2 separate regions of the Homo sapiens genome follow, and region 1 is linked to region 2. The links are contacts of gene promoters, found by promoter capture Hi-C in blood cells and fetal thymus (Javierre and others, 2016). All regions are on one chromosome and are shown on one strand. Each heading gives the region's core, a stretch centred on a gene start or on the middle of the fragment in contact. The rest is flanking DNA. Distances are from core to core; before and after follow the strand shown.

Region 1 (3,149 bases), core at 210-2,709, 530 kb before region 2:
ATAGTAACTAGTACATTGTTGTTGTTAAATAAATAATTAAGTATATCTGTATTGTTTGGAGTAAGACACCCTTCTATGAAAAATATTTTTGAAATACCGTGACAGACATCTCTAACTCAGTGATTTTCAAAACTCATTTGAGTAACAACACTTCTAAGAATCCAGTGAAAATCTTACTCCTCTTCTCGGAAAAATGCTCTTGGTTGTTAACTGACAGTTTGGCTGTTTCTTACCAGTTGTTTTGATTTATATTAACTAAGAACAAACTAAACACTTAAAGGGCTAATATTTAATTCAGCCACTAGTTTAAATATTTTTAGTCCATTTTTACACTAAAAGCTTAGTATTTTTATCCGGATAAAAATATATATTGTTATTGTACACAACTCTGACTGCACAAATCACTGATTACTCCGACTGAATCAATCAATTTCCTTAAAATTAGGATTTATAGATATAGGACAAACTATTCGGAACTTACAGTGTCAGTCATGGTAACTAATTTCAAATAGTCTTAGATTATCTATGTAGAATTAAATGCAATGGTAGACAGGTGCAGTGGCTCAGGACTGCAATCCCAGCACTTTGAGAGGCTAAGGCAGAGGGATGGCTTGAGCTCAAGAATTTGAGACCAGCCTGGGCAACATGGTGAAAACCCACCTCCAAAAACACACAGAAATTGGCCAGGTATGGGGGCGTGTACCTGTAGTCCCAGTTACTCCAGAGGCTGAGGTGGAAGGATCACTAAAACCCAGGAAGCGGAGATTGCAGTGAACAGAGATTGGACCACTGCACTCTGGCCTGGGTGACATAGACTCTGTCTCTAAATGAATAAATGTAATGGAAAGAAGTAGTTTTGTGATTTTTATGAGATTGCTATCAATCTCATTAGTTACCAGGAATCAGAAATACTAGTCCTGCAACTCATGGGGCAATTTTAATGAGCTATGGGAAGTCTGAATCTGTTTTGTTACTTAGTATGGACTTCTCTTATCTGCAGAAAGGCTTGTGGTGAATAATATCAATGATTATATCCATTCCCAGATCACTGAATTGCCTTTGATTCTTTGTAGAAAAAAAAAGTTTATGTTAATTTCCAGTTGTTCATTGCTAGTATACAGAAAAACAACTGAATTTTGTATACTGATGTTGCATGTATAAACATCAAACTTGCAAAAAAATACTATACTAGTTCCAATAGCTTTTATGTAATTTCACAAAATGTTCCATATAGGAGAATCTGGTTGTTAATAACAGCAATTTCACTTCTTCTTTTTTTTTCTTATCTACATGCCTTTTATTTTTTTTCCTTACTCTAATCTCCAATAAAATGTAGAGTAAAAATGGTGAGAGCAGACATACTGCCTTTTTGTTGATGTTAGAAGAAAAACAATCTTTCACCATTAAATCTGATATTAAATGTGAGCTTTCATAGATGCTGTTTATCAGATTGAGGGCATTCCCTTCTCTTCCTAGTTTGCTGAGAGTTTTTTTTTGTTTGCTTGTTTTGTTTTAAATCGGGAATCGCTGTGGATTTTGTTTAATACTTTTTCTGGACCTGCTAAGTTGATCATATGGTTTTCCTTTTTGGTCTATTAATATGGTGAATTACACTGGTAGATTTTTGAATGTTAAACCAATCTTGAATTTCTGAGAAAACTGGTGAATTAATATAACGAATTACACTGGTAGATTTTTGAATGTTAAACCAACCTTGCATTTCTGAGAAAACCCCAGTTGGAATCGACTTTTTAATTCAGATTGTTAATGTTTTATTACATTTTATAAAAAAAAGTTTATAAAAAATCTATCTTTATGAAAAATGTTAGTCTGTAGTTGCTTCCTGTAAAGTCTTGGATTGATTTTGATTTTCATATTTGAGTAAAGCTGGCCTCATAGAATGAGTTGGGAAGTATTTTTTCCTTTTTAACTTTTTGGCAATTTTTGTAAGATTATTATCTTCCTTATATGCCTAGTTAGGATTTACCTATGAAGCCATCTGAACGTGGTATTTTTTCTATAGGAATATTTTTAGCTAAAAATTTAATTTCTTTAATTAGTATATGACTACTAAAATGATCTCTTTCTTCTTGAGTAAACTAAGTATATGTAGGAAATCTCCTTTTATATAGTTCTATGCCTGGCAACCTTCAGCAACCTCGGCCTCCCTGGACTGCTTGCTATGCATCCTGAACTCAGGGAGACTGCAGTCTCCTCCTGGAGTCCTCCAGTTCTGTACCAGTCTGGAAACTATTTCTAGGCAATAAGCTGAGACAATCAGGTGCTCATCTCATTTGTTTCCATTGTCTTAGGATCACTGTCGTTCATTGCCTAAGTCCAATTTCTTGAAAACCAATGCTTCATACATTTTATTCAGTTTTTGTTTCAGGAAGGAGAATAGATTCAATCCTTACTTCATTTTGGCTGGAAACAGAAGTCCATTCTTAAACTTTAAAAACATTTATCTCACCCAAGTTTGGCCAACTTGTCTCTCTTACTTTCTCCTTATTTTTTTAGTAATACTTTAAAACTTTGATACTTTTTAAAAATTTTATTTTTCTCTCAGGAGGGGTGAGAAGGAAGCTTTCCACTGTTGTATTTAGCCTGATGCTTGCCTTATATAATTTTCACCCATCAGCTTCATTAAAGGTCTTCAGTGTAAGCTATTGGGATCAATTTGACAGTAAGACTTTGTATGATGAATGCATTCCATAATTGTTTAAAAAAAAATGAAGCAAAAGATTTAACTGCTGTGCCTAATTCTTCACCACTGCACTATTCTTTGCAGAAAAGCTTGGAAACAAGCCATATTCTCTTTTGTTTTCTGTTTTTTTTTTTTTTTTTTTTTTGCCAACAGAGTGAGTTGGAATGTCATGAAGACATGTTTTTAACCATTTAATAGAGGAAAAATATAAACTCTTCTACAATTACTTAAGTAAAGCATATATTTGTCTAACAAAAGTATTGTAAATTCAAGTACTAAAATTTGAACATTAGATAAATTGTAGGTTTGACTTTTTAGGGGGCTGTCAGTGATGACAGAATGTTTAATACACAGGGCTTGCTCATCGCTTTTGTGTGCTAGTATGTACCCTTCTGGGGTTGACTACAGACTGACGAAGCTCTTCTCTCCTGTTCTATCCTCCAGC
Region 2 (2,791 bases), core at 274-2,773:
TGACAGAGAAATGACTCGTTCAACTTTTTATCCATTCTTGTACCTTTCACAGAGTAGGCTCTGAGTTCCAATTATTTGAGTTTAACTATATCTTCATAGCTGAATAATTCCAAACTGAAGAAAATGCTGACTTTTATAAAGATTTGCATTTATATAGGAAATACGGTATCTACTTTTAAGAAAATTATTTTCTATTTTATAAACGTGCATTTCCACATTTATGGTAGCAAAATTAAAGTACATTTGCCGAGAGATACTAAAGACAGCAAAACTTCTATTTAAAATTTTAAACACGAAGAAGAAATAAAGTCCCATTAGGAGTGTCTCTTCTATTATTGAAGGAAATTTAAAAAGATTCCTACTACAGAAATGGCTTTAAGAAAAGCAATAGGAAAGGTTATAAATTTGAAATATTCATAACTGTTCTAAAAAATACTTCATAATGATTGCTCTTTGTGCAAGAAATGTATCAAAGAGCCAGAGACCTCATCATCTAATTTCTTACTTTTTCTTAATTAACATTGTTCCCAGACCTCTGCTAAACTCCCGTGTTGAAAGGAAAAAAGTAAATACAGTACAGCAGGGAAAACTGGTTCCTTTCGACAAAACTGAGAGAGAGGCTTGAGCTTTTGTCAAACAGAAAGCACTTGATAAAAAACTATTCCTAAACTATTAGCAACTATATAGAAGCTTTTTATTTAACAGCATCCTCCTGGGAAACTGCGCTGGAATGTGCAGCGGTTCTGAAAAAGGCACAGATTTGGCTGAACTGTAAATATTAGGTGCACAGAGGCGAAGCCATTGTGTAGGGAGGGGTGGGGCAGGTAGGGTCCTGATTTCCAATGTTGATAGAAGGATTCCAATTTCGTTTGGTATTTATTTTTTTCTACTACAATTACAGTTTTGCTGAGAAAAATAAAATATTGGTTGTGCTTCCATCTGGGTTTCTAATTTTCAGTGTGTACAGACAAGAGAAGACCTCTCATTTACCCAAAAGAATCACCTTTCTGCAATCTCCAGTGCTACTGGACAAACAAACGAGCCCAACCCCACCGCCCACACCTCCCAAGCACCCGGCTCGCCGATCCCGCCTGCTTCAGGTAGCTGGGGTTTGCCCGGTACGCCAGCGGCCCTGAGACGATGTGTGCCCGCAGCACGATCGTGTCTGTTGGCATTTCTGGGTGTGGATGCTCCAAACCAATAAACCACAATACAGAACCCAAGCTTGGACTTTGAACCGAGCCCTTTTGCCTAGTTTGCTTTTTCCTCATCAAGCCAGGATCCTTGCCAACCCACCTCACAGCTTCTGCCCGGGCTGTGGCTCCCCTCCAGCCACCTGCGCGTGTTCGGGATAGAAGCGCGGTCAGGAGGGGAGCTCAGTCCACCAGCCACTCCAGGGAGAGACGGAAACTACAAATCCCATCAAGCCCCGCAGCCGGCTCCCTCCTCCTCCCTCTCCTTCCCCTTCAGCCTGCGGCCGGGCGGCGCTGGGCTTTTATCTGCGGACCCGCCGGGAGGGAGCCAGATCCCAGCGATCTTCCCCGACGGCAGCGCTTTACCCAGAGGCTGCCGGCGGCTCGTAGCTGGGTTCAGCTCTGCGTCCACGCCAGCCCGGAGCCCGGGGGGCAAGGGGTCTGTCCCGGGCGCAGCGAGAGGATGGTCATCCGCGTGTTCATCGCCTCTTCCTCGGGCTTCGTGGCGGTGAGCGCGGTGGGGGCGGGCAGTAGGTTGGGGTCGCGGGGCGCGGGTCCTGCGGGAGGCGCGCGGCGCTCGTCACTGCGCGTCCTTGCGCTCAGCCGGTCCGCCCGCGGGAGCCCGCGCCCGGCAGGTGATCCATCACACTCCGACAACAATGAAGAGGGCGGGGAGGAAAGGTGGGTGGGGGACCCCGGCCTCACCCAAATGCCCACCCTGCGTGGCCTGAAAGGCAGACAACGCGGCCTGAAAATGGAGTCCGAGGGAAGCCCCCAGCTCCTGTTGTGTGGCATGGAAATTTGGGGAACGGGTTGTTCAAGAGCTTCGGGGATCCCCCTTCCCCTAGTTTAGTTCTTCCCGATTTGGGACCTTCAGACTGGTTATGTTTTGCACGGGAGCCTTTTCTGCTGCTTTGGTTTGTTACCCTAGCTCCTGAATGAAGCAAGTTTAAGTGGGAATTGCTCTCTGTCCTCCCTTCCCCGCCAGCAAGTGCATTTGTTTAGTTTTATACCTGCGCAAAGAGAATAGTAAAACTAGGTTTGTCCTGTTGTGGTAGGATTGTTTGCTTTCACTGTCATTTTTTTTCTTAGGGTGCCATAAATATTTTTACATCTTTATGTAAATGTGTGTGTATGCACGCATTTTCTTTCCACCTGTAATGCTGTGGAAATTTTATCCTGGGGATCTATGAATTGTGGTTTTCTATTTAATTATTTTTAGCTATTCTCTTTGGTGGATGTTCTTGAATTTTTTTAGAGAAAAAAAATTTTTTTAAAGAAAGGAAAGTTAAATAGCTAGAGATGTCAGAATTTAAGGAAAATTCAGTAGTTAGTATATTTGACAGCCCACTAAGGGACATAGCACATGTGTTTTACATGATTATTGAGACTTGGTTTCCTTAACCAAGAGTTCAGCTATAGATTTAAGAGCCTCCTTTGTGACATATATAATCAAGTAACATCAAAAAGTGCATTGTAGATTGCTTAAATTTGGTCTGGTCAATTGTCTGCCCAGTAGCTCAGTCAGATTGTTCCAAAATTTGTTTCTTAAGTGGGTGGAGTGGAGGATGGAATAAAATATTGTTTGAAAATCCTTG

What was found. The method cuts DNA at HindIII sites, captures the fragments that hold promoters and counts their contacts. A CHiCAGO score of 5 or more calls a contact.
Region 1: a contact is called between a fragment that was not itself captured here and the fragment with the promoter of SH3BGRL2 in region 2, in 2 of 17 cell types (erythroblasts and megakaryocytes). The highest score is 7.7, in erythroblasts.

Annotation. Positions count from the first base shown.
Region 1 is chr6:79,095,848-79,098,996 of GRCh38, forward strand. No RefSeq gene overlaps it. Among named protein-coding and RNA genes, the nearest start is that of PHIP, 19 kb to the left of the region's middle. The HindIII fragment of the contact is 2,244 bases long and covers 338-2,581 here.
Region 2 is chr6:79,629,806-79,632,596 of GRCh38, forward strand. SH3BGRL2 (SH3 domain binding glutamate rich protein like 2) reads left to right here and starts at 1,524. Exons shown (of 4, transcript NM_031469.4): 1 at 1,524-1,701. The coding sequence starts at 1,657. The HindIII fragment of the contact is 2,885 bases long and covers 1,223-2,791 here.